Linked DNA regions of Homo sapiens: regions 2 and 3 are each linked to region 1. Evidence: promoter capture Hi-C in human tissues and cell types (Jung and others, 2019). All regions are on one chromosome and are shown on one strand. Each heading gives the region's core, a stretch centred on a gene start or on the middle of the fragment in contact. The rest is flanking DNA. Distances are from core to core; before and after follow the strand shown. Region 1 holds the start of DNAH10OS (dynein axonemal heavy chain 10 opposite strand). Region 2 overlaps NCOR2 (nuclear receptor corepressor 2). Region 3 overlaps MPHOSPH9 (M-phase phosphoprotein 9).

The links. The method cuts DNA at HindIII sites, captures the fragments that hold promoters and counts their contacts. A contact is called where the count stands out against the background at its distance.
Region 2: a fragment that was not itself captured here is called in contact with the fragment with the promoter of DNAH10OS in region 1 in 3 of the 25 tissues and cell types used here (dorsolateral prefrontal cortex, pancreas and spleen).
Region 3: a fragment that was not itself captured here is called in contact with the fragment with the promoter of DNAH10OS in region 1 in 1 of the 25 tissues and cell types used here (dorsolateral prefrontal cortex).

Annotation. Positions count from the first base shown.
Region 1 is chr12:123,933,692-123,938,242 of GRCh38, forward strand. DNAH10OS (dynein axonemal heavy chain 10 opposite strand) reads right to left here and starts at 1,293. Exons shown (of 2, transcript NR_187476.1): 1 at 374-1,293. DNAH10 (dynein axonemal heavy chain 10) reads left to right here. Exons shown (of 79, transcript NM_001372106.1): 78 at 930-1,075; 79 at 1,644-2,023. The coding sequence ends at 1,790. CCDC92 (coiled-coil domain containing 92) reads right to left here. Exons shown (of 5, transcript NM_025140.3): 5 at 1,935-4,139. The coding sequence ends at 3,367. RefSeq lists an enhancer at 4,358-4,551. The HindIII fragment of the contact is 2,982 bases long and covers 249-3,230 here.
Region 2 is chr12:124,500,106-124,504,419 of GRCh38, forward strand. All of the region lies in intron 2 of NCOR2 (nuclear receptor corepressor 2), which reads right to left. Among named protein-coding and RNA genes, the nearest start is that of NCOR2, 65 kb to the right of the region's middle. The HindIII fragment of the contact is 6,725 bases long and covers 1-4,314 here.
Region 3 is chr12:123,225,203-123,229,728 of GRCh38, forward strand. MPHOSPH9 (M-phase phosphoprotein 9) reads right to left here. Exons shown (of 24, transcript NM_022782.4): 3 at 2,261-2,414. Among named protein-coding and RNA genes, the nearest start is that of MPHOSPH9, 5.7 kb to the right of the region's middle. The HindIII fragment of the contact is 6,998 bases long and covers 1-4,526 here.

The DNA.
Region 1 (4,551 bases), core at 43-2,542:
TGGATACGGAAGTTTCTCTTCCACTTTCTCCGTTGAGACCTGGGGTCTATGGCAGGGGAGACCTGAACCATGTTCACTCTGCTAGCTCATGGCAAGTGGGCTCCTAGGTCAGAATTAGCTCTTGCAAAAACCATCAGGTGGCTTTCTTGTAACCCCTGACGGGGCCAGGGGCATGGGAGCCACAGAGCAGCATGGACTAACTTGGTTGGAACTCTTTGATTATGCCAGAACTTCAGGTCCCTTAGACATTGGTTACTGACTGTGCAAATGAGAGCTGGAAACTGCTGTTTCCCCGGGTCCATGTTGTCTTAGAGTTCTTTTAACTGCAAGGAACAAAAGCTCTTTTGAGATGGCTTAAGGACTGGGGACTTACGGTAAAGATGCAGGGACTCTCCAGGTCTCAGTGGCAGGGGAGGTGGCAGGTGTCCGGGCCACCACTCTCTCTGGGGCCACAGGAGTGTGTTCCTCTCTTTGCACATCTGCTGGGTCCTCCTCCCCGGAGACCACTTTCTCTGTGAGGCTTCGACTTCCTGCTCCCCAGCCACTTCGGCTCACAGGGTAGCTGGGGTTGCCATGGTGCCCATTCTGACTCTGGGACCATGCATCTTTCTAGCCTGGGGGCCCAGGGTGGTCTAAGTCCGTGGGCCTTGATGCCCCAGGAATGAGGATTCCTGGGGGAGAGGCCACCGCCCCACACCCATTTCTCTGGGCCATGGGGCAGGGCCACAGGGTCTCCTGTCTGGGCTGCTCCTCCACAGAGGGAAGGTGGGCAGGACAGAAATGCTGGAGAAGGGCCTGGGCTGTCCCCAATGCGCTGGGGAGGAGGCCAGCCAGTGGCCTGTGTGTCGCTGTGTGTGCGCCTGATAGAGCCACTCCGTGGCAGGCTGTGCATGCTCCAGTTGTATCCAGTCTCTGCCTTGTGTCCCTAGGATGCTTTGTCTCAGGACTGTACCTGGAAGGTGCTGACTGGGATATAGAAAAAGGATGTCTTATCAAGAGCAAACCCAAGGTGCTGGTTGTGGACCTGCCGATCCTGAAGATCATCCCCATTGAAGCCCATCGCCTCAAGCTGCAGGTGAAGGTCCCAGCCCCTCCTCTCTGACACCAGGGCCCTTCCTCTTCTGACTGTAGTTATGGCTGAGGTGGTTTCCAACAGTCCTACTTTTTAAAACAGGGGTGCCTAAGCTTTATGGGCTGGGGAGAGTCTTGGAGCCGTGATAAAAGCTACGGATAGCTGCTTCCTGGAAAAGGCGCGGCTGTATGTGTGTGTGGATGCCGGTCCTTCCAGAGGTGTCAGGCTCAAGCTGTGATCCTGTGGTCTAGACTAACCAAGGGGAGACTCCCTCCCTTCTTGCAAAATGCTGCAGACATTGCCTGAGTCATAAAGTGGTTCCCGCTGGTGTGGACAGCAGATGTCTTCTGCTCTGCCTGGGCCAGGACCCACTTTTAACCAGGGTGTCAGTGTGAAGCCAGGTCCCCGTGAAGCTGGCGGAGGGTGGCCCTGAGCAGCCCCAGCCTTGTGCGTGTTCTCAGGTGCAGTCTTGCACAGGGGCCCCTGCCTGTCAAGACTTACACTGCACCTCTGCCTTTATCCCTCTGCACCCTCTCTCCGTGGGGGCATCTCACCTGCCTTTCCCTTGCAGAATACTTTCCGGACCCCCGTCTACACCACCTCCATGAGAAGGAACGCCATGGGAGTCGGCTTGGTTTTTGAAGCTGATCTCTTTACCACGAGGCACATTTCTCACTGGGTGCTGCAAGGAGTATGCCTCACCCTGAATTCTGATTAACCTTTGGGTGAAGAAAACTGCTTAATGAATTCGGAGCCTGGGGTTGTCAGAGTGATCGGGTCTGCTGTCATTTCTTGGGGCCTCTCAAGAGGCAGGAGGGGGACTGACACTGATTTTTCATTTGAAATCAGCCACTTAAATCTCTTTCCATACAAATTAACCTGAATGGTTTTGTTTTTAATACTACTTTTTAAAAGGAATTTATATAATCAAAAAGTAAATATTGGAGAGTATTTTAAGATGTGTGGAGTTTTCTTTTCCTTCTCAGAGAAAACACTTGATTAGGCAAAAGTGCCTGGCATACATAGCATTGGCACAAGTGAGAATCCTAATGTAATTTCCAAAGGTGTGTTTTCGATGATCCAGGTCTGTTTCAGCAGATGCTCCTTTTTGGCAAGAAGGGCTGATGATGTCGGGCACAGAGCAGAAGTGACCAGTCACCTGGAGCCACTTCTCCCCCTTCCAGAACTCTCTGGCCCTAGCTTCTTTGGCTCTGACCTGCTACGGCGACTGTGAAGTTGTTGAGCTTAGTGTTTAGTTCCTGCATGAGCTTCTACCCCCAGCCTGCCTGGGTCTGTGTGGGGTCAGGTAAGGACACAGAACCTCCAGGACCAGTGGTCACTGGGCACCCCTTCCCTCTGTGCACCATGAGGCTGGCCTGGAGCCCTGGCTGGCCACCTGGAGGTGAGGGGTGGCTTCACTCCATGAGGGAGGAGAGGGGCTAGCACGGGCAGCACAGTGGGCAGGGGCCATCAGAGGCAAAAGCAGCTTCCCACAGAAGCTCAGGAGCGCAGCACATTCTAAGGACTAGCTCTGGGCCGGGAGGAGGCCGGAGTCGCTTCTGGGACCTGTGATTGCTCTCCCTCCTGCAGTCTCCTAGCCCTCCTTCAGGTGTTTGTTTAATAAAAGACACAAAACAGAAGGAAGGCAGGTTTAGAAAATAAAGTTTGTTGGGATCTTAAACATTTTGGATAAAACTAACAAAAAAATATGAACACACATTCAGGTTGTGGTGCTATGAGGAGTAGCGTCATCTTATTTAGTTCCTTGAGATACACGCACGGCTGCTCGGTGATCGGTGCCGCCCTGGGAAAGGTTGGTCAGGAGGTGACAGGGGTCTCCAGGAGGAGCTCGGGAGGTGACAAGGGTCTCCAGGAGGGAGCAGGGGCTGCTCGGCCAGGCTGCCCTGGAGCTTGAGGATAAGGTCAAGGTTGGTATGTGTTGCTCCGACTTGAGAATGAATTAGGTGTGTGACTGTGTGGCATCGTGAACATCAGTAGTGACGCAGCCGTGGCCTGGGCTTTGCCTGCAGCGCACTTAGGTTACACGGAGCGGGATCAGAAGCAAGCGATTCGGCACACAGGCGTTTGGCCACAGCAATTAGGAAATACATATTCTGCGGCAGGGACACGATCATATTTTGGTGTGAAGAAGAGGGCAAGAGAAGCAGAAGGAGAATGGGTCGGTAGGTGTGAAAAGTGTTTGGCATGCATGGGATTAAACAGAAAAGGTGTGGCTGAGATTTCCCAGTGGTGCTCACAGTGCATGGACAGCGCGGGGTGGGGCACGGCGGGCTTCACACAGTTCTGTCCGTCCCTGAGTGCTTCCTCACCACCTTGCCTCCGTTCACCTGGTCGACCGCCAGGGTCTTCACCTCGGGCTGGGCCTGCGGCGGGGTGGCGTGGTGGATCCGATGTGCCACCCCGACGTGGGCCTTGTGCGGCTTTTCGCGGGCCGGGCTGTGCTGCTCGCCGCTTCGGTCGGAGGCGATGGGGGGGATGACGAGGGGCCTCTCTTTGATGAGGTGGACCTCGGCGGACTCCCTAGCCAGCAGAAATGGGGTGGGGTCGGGCATAGCATCCACTGGTTCCCGCAAAAGGAGTTTCCTGCTCTCTGCCCCGAATCTGTAGACCTCTTCAAATTCCGGGTGCAAGGGGGCTGAGAGGCTCTTTTTCATGCGGCGGCGAGGCGTTTCGGGTAGCTTGTCTTTGGGGGGCGCTGGCTTGTAGCTGGCCAGCACGGGGCTCCCTGACGGGCTGGCATCTGAGGTCCCGCTGGAGCTCATGAGCTTCTTCTTGGCGGCGTGCAGCTGGGAGGTCAGGTAGGCGATGGTGCTGGCCCGCTGCTCCAGCTCGCTAGACAGCAGGGTCAGCTTGTGACTCTTGGCCTTCAGCTCCTCCAGGTACTTCTTCTCTCGCTCCTTGATGGTGTTCTCCAGCACTGTGATCATCGCGTTTTTCTGCTCCAGTTCTTTCAACAACTCAGCATTTTCGTTCTCTTTCACTTTCAGTTGGGCTTCCAGCTCTTCACATCTTTTCTTTAATTCACTGCTTTTAGAAGTCCCGTCTCCTACAAGAATAAGCCGAGGAAGCAGGTGAAGAACTCATTAGACTGAGGCCGAGTGGTGAGGCCTATGGGGCAGGCGGACCTGTCTGGTGGGGGCCCTGTCTAGGCTGTGGGGGCCATGCAGAAGGCAGGGCTGTGGGGGCTCTGGAAAGACCCCTCCCCTCCCCGAGGTGGGGAGATCGGGGCATCTCAGAGGCCCTTTCCGGCTCTTAGTTCTCTGGCCTACTGCATAAAAGAATGTCTCTGAACCTTAAAGATGCTGAACTTAAAACAGGCAATTGCAGAGTATCAGACCTCAGCAAACACTTAGGATTCAACTGGCCGCAAATCCCTCTGTCTGCTCAGATGGCATTTATGGAATGCCTGCTACATTCAAAGTACTGTTTTGAAACTCAAATGTAAAAAGAATTATCCA
Region 2 (4,314 bases), core at 334-2,833, 570 kb after region 1:
GAGGAGAACAAGACGGTGCCTGGGTGAGGTCAAGGGACTTGTAGATCTCAGGTGGCCGGGATACCCAACGGGGACACCAAGGGCCCAAGCAGGCCTCTGCACATCCAAGCCACCAACCACAGCCCCAGGGCCCCTGCTGGCCCCTGAACCAGCTGGAGGAGGGCTGCAGATCCCACGCAGGCAGGTGGAGGGGCTCCCCATGCACGGCTGCAGGGGTCTGTCCCTGGGCCATGCCTGCCAGGAGGTAGCAAACACACAAGTGCCCCCCGCCCCCACTGCACTCTGCCAGGCAGCAGCAGAAGCCAAGTGGGCCACATTCCCTGTTCCCGGCCACTGCGGGCTTTGGTAAGGTTTCCAAATCCACAGCGGAAAGCTCAGGCCGTGAGCTCTGACTGGCTGTCCGCCTTGCCTCCTGCTGGACCCAGAGCCCCTTCTGGTGCCTGGCACACAGTAGGTGCACACTGAATGACTCTGCCCAGCGGAGGTGCATGCCAGCAACGCAGTGATGCCAGAAACCACCACACCTGTGTCCTCTTCCCACCTGGCCGGGCAGAGGCGCCTTTCCGGGAGGCCCTGGAAGCTTCCATGGGGCCTCCCACCCCTGCATTCCTCTCCAGCTCCGGCAGGATGAGGCCACACCGAGACACATTCCATAGATTTTCTGTGTCTTGAGCGGCCTGGTTCAGACCTGGGGAGGGTGGAATTACAGCCTCAGGGTGAGGGGCAGGCGGGGGCTGGTGGAGGTGTGGGAGCTACAGGATGTGCCCGGAGCGCTCAGCCGCGGGCTGTGGGGAGGATGAAAGGCACGCGGGGCTCTGCGCCGCACGTGCCTGAAATGTTCTGGGAACTAATGGGTGCTGACATTGGAAGAACCTGTGGCAGGTGGGGGAGCCTCGGGATTAAAAACCAACCTGCCAGGCAGAGAGCGCCCACGGCACGAGCGCGCGCGCACGCGCGCACACACACACACACACACACACACACACACACACACACACACACTCGACAGAACCCTCTGATACTCTGAGAAGCCCAAGGCACAAAGCCCCCCTGGGGTGGGCGGAACCACGGCGGGAACACAGGCCGTGCCTCCACTGTCCCAGCCTGGCCCTGCGAAGACAGGCAGGCCCCAGGAGCCCTGCAGCTCAGCCACATACGGCCTCCCTCACCGCTCAGTAGGTATTTGTTCCACTCACTGTGGAATAAGCACCTATTGTGTGACAGCCACCGAGAGGCACGGCACCTGGCACACACGAGGCGTATTAGCGCCCTCGGCTGCCCCACCACAGACTGCATGGCTTCAAGCAACAGAAATGGATTGTCTCACTGTTCTGGAGGCCTCGAGTCCATATCCAGCTGTCATCAGGGCCCCACGGCCTCTGGGGGCTCTGGGGGAGGCCCTTCCTACTTCCTCACTCCTCCAGCTCTGGTGGCCCCGGCAACCCCCGGTGTTCCCTGGCTTGTAGATGCATCGTGCCATCCTCTGCCTCTATCTCCACGCAGCCTTTCCACTGCATCTCCTGTCTCTGTGTCTCCCCTTCTTCTAAGGGCACCCGTCATATTGGATTTGGGGCCCTCCCCTATCCGGTTGTGACCTCATCTTAACTAATGTGATCTGCAAAAACCCTTTCCAAACAAGGCCGCACTCCCAGGTTCCACGCAGACGTACCTTAAGGGAGAACACTACCTACTTCAGGAGGTGCTCCAGAAATACTTGTTTTGTTCACTGCTGTATCCCCAGAGCCCAGCACACAGTAGGCATCTAATAAATATTTACTAAACAAAACCACTGCAGCCAGTCTGGCCCGAGGAGAAGCCGGCCCGGGGGGAACTCTGGGACAGCAGTTCTGGGATGTGCGCACAAGACGCTGCGGAGCGCCAGCTCCACGGGTCGAGCTGTTGACACCTTGGGTGTTTACTTTCTGGCGTGCAGTAAAAACTGGGGAACTGGCCAAGTATCTGATGGCCACCTTCAGCAGGACTCCTGGCGCAGAACGGATGCTCAGGAATCCAGCTCTGGAGTGAGTCCTGAGATGCGGAAAGCCGGTGGGACGTGGCAAGGGTGCACCTCGCCCAGCCCAGTCCAGAGGGGCCCCCACAGCCAATGAGGAAGGGGGTGAAGAGAGAGCTCCTGCTGCCCGGCCTGGTGGCTCACTCTGTCTACCACGATTTGTTAAGCACCTACTGTGTGAAAGGTGCTGGGGATACAGCAGTGAATTACTGATCCCAAATCCCCCACCTCGTGAAGCTGCCATTCCAGCAGGTGAGACGGGAGTAAGAGGATGGCAGAAGGTGTTAGCACGATGGAGAAAAACAGAACCAGGAGGCGGCAGGCAGGGAATGGGGGTACATTTTGAAAGTGGGCAGTCAGGGGTGCGTCACCAGAGGTGCCTTTTATGCAAAGGCGCCGGGGAGAGGAGGGAGTCTACACAGCAGGCACAGCAGGTGCAAAGGCCCAGAGGCAGGACCGAGCCTGGTGTGTGAGGACAGCAGGGAGGCCTGGATGGGGAGAGTGGGGTGAGCGAAGGCATGTGAGGTCACTCTTTCTGGCTATAGCCAGAAAGCTGGGGTGTTCACTGCAAGGGAGCTAGGAAGGACACAGCTGGTGCACTTTAAACAAGGCTGACGTGCGGTCTCCTGTGGCAAGTCTGCCTCTGGCGTCTCTGTGTTCAAAGGACACTGTAGCTGCCCCTGTGTCGAGGAGCACTGGGCACAGGTGTCTGAGTGTGGGGCACAGGTAAAAGGGCCCCTGTAACCCTGAATGATGACAGCCACGATTGTCAGGGCCCTAGAGAAACGGGCCTCCACCCATGCACAGCGGCAGGCCTGCAGGAATGAGGCCAGACTCCTTGGCCCTCACTTGGCAGAAAGGTCATTCCACTCCCTAAGGAAGAGCCAGGTACCCAACCCCAGCCTGTCGTTGGCTCTGCCGGAGGGGCTGAGGGTCAAATACTAAGAGCTCAATCCCGGGTGCCACCCACAAGGGTGCGGTCTGCCCTCCAGCTGAGACCAGGCAAGCCAAACCCATCCCAAACTCCGGTTGCTGACCCATTCTCATCAATTAGAGAATTATTTCAGCATCTGTTATGTGCAAACACTGTACAAGCACAGCTACAGCAGTGACCAAGTCAGACAAAAGGCAAAAGGCCCTGCTGACCACGGCCCACACCCAGTGACAGGTCTGGCCCAACTGGCAGACTCCCCACCCAGGTGCTCAGCAGGGGGTGGCTGGATGGAGGGAGAAGATGGAAGAGGGATAGAGATGGGAGGATGGAGGAGAAAGGAGGAAGGGAGGGAGGAAAGGAGGATGGATGGATGAATGCATGCATGGATAGAGAAAGGAGGAAGGATGCATGGACTGATGGATGGATGGATGGATGATGGATTGATGGATGGATGGATGGATGGACAGAGGATGGACAGATGAATGGATGGATGGATGGACGAATGGATGGATGGATAGATGGAAGACGGACGGATGGACGGATGGATGGATGGACGGACGGACGGATGGATGGATGGATGGATGGGCGAATGGATGGATGGATGGATGGATGGACGGGTGAATGGATGGATGGATGGATGGATGGATGGATGGATGGATGGACAGACGAATGGATGGATGGATGGACGGATGGATGCATGGATGCATGGATGGATGGATGGATGGATGGGCGGATGGATGCACACACTCATCACCAGATGGGTATCAACTTAGCTGCTTCATTTTCCGGGTTTTTCTGGTCTTACATTTCTAACCAATCCCCAGGGCCAAGCATGTCTTCATCCTGCTAATATTCCCAGGCCCTCCCACATGCCCAGCTCCATGAGGGACACAGAAAGGCACTGTCGCCTTCAGGAACCCCCAAACCCATATAACTGCTCCCCAAGTCCCAGCCTGCTGAGTAAGAAGGACCCTAGGGAAAACTGCCTCCAGTCCCAAACCCAGACTCAGCGTGGGAGGGTCTCAACTCTCCCGAGTCCCCCACCTGGCACCACTTCTCCCTTTTCAGCATAAACCAGCACATCTTCCCCTTGAGCTGGGTTCGAGGAGAAAGGCCGAGAGGACTCCAGCCTGGGAATCCTCCTCCTTGACCCCGGGTAGATGTACAGGGTAGAGATACGTGGGCCAGGTTAAAGCCAGAAAGCTGGGGTGCCCGGAGCGTCTCGTCAGGTCCCAGACTTGCTCCCTCTGGGCAGTTTCCTGGGACTTGCTTCCTCACCCCAGGGTCAGCTCAGCTAAGCCCCAGAGACCAGCTCTTATAAAGAGGGATTTCACAGGAAATTTGGAATGTCTGGCTTCTCCTAATGAGG
Region 3 (4,526 bases), core at 659-3,158, 710 kb before region 1:
GGAGGCCAAGGTGGGTGGATCATTTGAGTTCATGAGTTCAAGACTAACCTGGGCAACATAGCAAAACCTTGTCTCAACAAAAAATGCAAAAATTAGCTGGGCATGGTGGTGTGCACCTGTAGTCCCAGCTACTTGGGAAGCTGAGGTGGGAGGATGGCTTGAGCCCAAGAGGTTGAAGGTACAGTGAACAGAGATTGTGCCACTGTACTCCAGCCTGGATGACAGAATGAGACCCTATTTCAAAAAAAAAAAAAAAAAGAAAGAAAGAAAAGAGAGAGAATGAAAGAGGAGAAAAAGAAACAAAGAAAAGGAAGGAAGGAAGAAAGGAAGGGAGGGAGGGAGGGGGTGGGAGGGAGGGGAGAGGAGAGGTGGGGCAGGGAATATATTCTGATTCTGACTTAAGATGCTAATGTCAAAAAAAAAAGGTTGATTTCTAATTATCAAAAGTAACAATTTCTAGTTAAACACAAATTTTCCAGAAGTTAAAATACATTGTGGCAATGCCTCCTTTGTCCTAAAGCATGTTAATTCAGTTATCAAAAGCTAATAAGGGCTAGCCACGGTGGCTCATGCCTGTAATCCCAGCACTTTGGGAAGCCAAATCAGGCAGATTACCTGAGGTCAGGAGTTCGAGACCAGCCTGGCCAACATGGCTAAACCCCTTCTCTACTAAAAATACAAGAATTAGCTGGGCATGGTGGCGCTCGCCTGTGATCTCAGCTACTCGGGAGACTGAGGCAGGAGAATCACTTGAACCTGGGAGGCAGTGGTGGCAGTGAGCCGAGATCGCACCATAGCACTCCAGCCTGGGCAACAGAGCAAGACTCTGTCTCAAAAACAAACAAACAAATAAACAAAAAGCTTATGAGTAGATACATTAAGGGAAGCATTTAATATACTTAATAAAACATTCCATTTTTAATTGCATTTGCATGGGCATTTTTAAAGGTCTTTCACGTTAGTGCATACTGATTATTATATGCAAACAAGCATAAAGTATAAAAACTGAAAACTCAATTTTTTAAGCATATAATAATACTTTTTTATAATTTCAATAATTATGGATAATGGATATAAATAATTACACTTAGCAGTTGCTGCTATCGAATTCTTAAACCAGGTAATCTTTCATTTCGCTTACTCTACATTCTGAAAAATAACACAAATTATGCTTCTAAAAGTACAATTAACGTTTAAAACAAGATCTAGTGCTTTCTAAGAATTAATAATGGTTTAAACATTTCTATAAAAAACTATCAAATCCAGCCTTAGGAAAGTCTATCTTGAGCATTATCCTATGAAATAAAATTTATATATACTTTTTTTTTTTTTTACTGAGGGGGTCTTGCTATGTTGCCCAAGCAGGTCACAAACTCTGGGCACAAGCTATCCACCTCTGCCTCAAGTGCTGGGATTACAGGTTCTCTTTTTTTATATATAGAGAGAGACAGGGTCTCAGTCTGTCACCCAGGCTGGAGTGTAGTGCTGTGATCATAGCTCACTGCAACCCTGACTTCCTGGGTTGAAGTGATCCTCCCACATCAGCCTCCCAAGTAGCTAGGACTACAGACACCGTGCCACCATGACCAGCTAATTTATTTATGTATTTATATTTGTAGAGACAGGGTCTCGCTATCTTGCCCAGGCTAGTCTCAAACTCCTGGCCTCAACCAAACCTCCCACCTTGGCCGCCTAAAGTGCTGGGATTACAGGCGTGAGCCACTGTGCTCGGCCATGTAAGTATTCTTTTAACTGTTACATTTTTATATCACAATTTAACCTATGAACCAAAGAAAGAACCACTGATCTGAAAACAATATAATGCAATGTATCACAGCTGAATATGGTAAGGTACTAAATAGAAGCTTCAATTTATAATTAGAACATTGAAAATATTTCAAAGTGGATTTAGGTTTTTCAAAATGATGACAATTCCATATAAGTTACTGACAACATTACAATTAGTAACAATTTTAATAATTTTGGGATTCTCAGGTCTCTGAACCAAGACAATGTTTTAGTTCATATTTAATATACAAATTAGTATGTCTAATCAGTAATATATTGTTAAAAAATACTTTTGATCACCTTTTTCCCATTCATTCAATATCATTCCCAAATTAATATACTTGACCACTTTAGCATTAACTTAAAAGTGTCATGCTCTTCAGGACATAAATTTCTAATAATTTAGAGTTTAGTAGAGGTATGTTTTAACATAATTATTTTAAAATTCCAAAAATAAAACAAAATTAGATACCTCACAGTTTTTCCAAAGTTCCGAATCAGTCTTTCCACTGTTTTGTAGCTCTTGCATTAAAGAAGTTAGGACTTCAACTGTACCTTGAATTACAGATGGTCTGGTCTTCCCTGAGAAAGAGGATACCCCATTTGTACTAAGGTGGGGACTACTTCTGTTGAAACATAAATAATTCAAATGGTTTTCTTCATTCTATCAAAGTGTTGAATAATTCAGCAGTTCAAGATTTAGCAGAGCAGTACAAAACCACTGACATTTAATCCTTCTAATGGCACCTCATTTGTTCAAAATCTGATCACAAGTTGCTCCACAAAAGGAAACGGCCAGTAAAAAGACCGCACTGTACTCTTTTTAAGAACACAACAAGAAGACCTTCTCCAGAAGTGAGAGAACACTCCAAAGGATCGGCAGAAAATAGAAAAAGTCTGTGCTAAACAATAAGATTAATTTCCAGCTTCTCTGATCTCAGCTATTCCAGAGGATTATTTCCCCCAACTTTCAGAACAGCCCTTCATTGTGCAGTGGGGATTCTTTCCCCACTGCCCCAAATGACAGTCAAATCTTGTTCACTGGACACCCTTAATTTGGTACGATAAGCTGATGCTTATCTCTGCACTATCTCTGCATAAAAGTTGTGCCAAGCAAATCAGCAGCAAATATTCAGGACTTATTTAGCCTACTCAGTGTGTAAAACAGCACTGAGTTTTTCCAGGAGTACTGCTTTTCCAAACTTCAGGTAAGTTATTTCGGATTTGTTTTATAAACACACAATATATTTCAGGACATTAAAATGTACTTAAAATCTAGTCACCAAAAGATCATTTTAATTTATTTACTGCTTGATATCCTGCTTTCTTTCACAAATAATTTGTTTAAAAAAATAAATAAAAATAACAATAAAATAATAGTTAGGACCAGTGAAAATATTACTAAAAATTCAAAGGAGGCCAGGCGCAGTGGCTCACGCCTGTAATCCCAGCACTTTGGGAGGCCAAGGCGGGCGGATCACCAGGTCAGGAGATCAAGACTGTCCTGGCCAACATGGTGAAACACCATCTCTACTAAAATACAAAAAATTAGCCGGGTGTGGTAGTGCGTGCCTGTAGTCCCAGCCAATCAGGAGGCTGAGGCAGGGGAATCCCTTGAACCCAGGACACGGAGATCGCAATGAGCTGAGATGGCACCACTGCACCCCAGCCTAGTGACAGAGCAAGACTCCGTCAAAAAAAAAAATTCAAAGGAAAGAATATATGTTATCAGTAAAGGATTTTACATAGCTGTAATAATCAAGTTTAAATGTGGCCAATTTAACTGCCAGTCACAATGAAAAGGAAGACAAGTTTAATTGCCTAATTTTCACTAGCAAGGCACAGTTAGCTTCCTCCAGCCAAATCAAACACTGTTCTAACAGGAATATCTTCTAGAAGTGTACTTTAAAGGGACCACCAAGTAATACAAGAACCAAAATGCGTGGCCAACTTTCTGCAAGTGCATACAGATTACTGTAGGACCATTTCCTGTGCCTTTTAAAATTTCCTTTTCTCGTTTTATTTCACATATTCCTTTGTTTTTTACAACTCCCCACCCCCATTGTTTTATATACCCATGTAAGCTGCCTTAAATTCCTCCTGAAAAGGGCAGAGAATTAACAACTTTTAAAGTAATGTATTTATTTATAATACACAATTTCTTCAAGACCTACCGTGTTTAAAGCTCCTTGCCCCTTTACCAGTAAGGCCCCAAAACCGCTGTTTTCCTTCCTTGTACCCGCTCTTTATAGATGCTCTCCTCTCTTACAGTCCTTGCCTCTTTGCTGTTTCTACACTACTATAAATTTAGAAACCCAATAACCAAGCTTGTCAGACTATGTGCAAATTGAAAGTAAACAGGCTCTGATGAAAAACAAACCATGATCTGTGTTAAGACCATTAAAAAATAAAAAACCAATCACAGGATAGCTTAAAAATAAAATGCATTTTAAAAAATTAATAAAATGCATAAAACACACTTTGATAACATCTATTTAGTCCACTATTTTGTCTACTTAGAGTCTGTTATTGTCTTAACTTCCTAATACTCAACTTTAACTGCTACTTCCCACATTGGTGAAGTATTTCTGCAACATAAAACATCAATTGTCCCAATCATTTAAAAATGTAGAAATAATATTTAGGCAACTAAATGTTAAAGATATGCTTGTAATTTACCAAAAACAAACAAAAAAGTATAAAGGAAAGTAAAACAAGCAAAACAAGTTCTTTTTCAG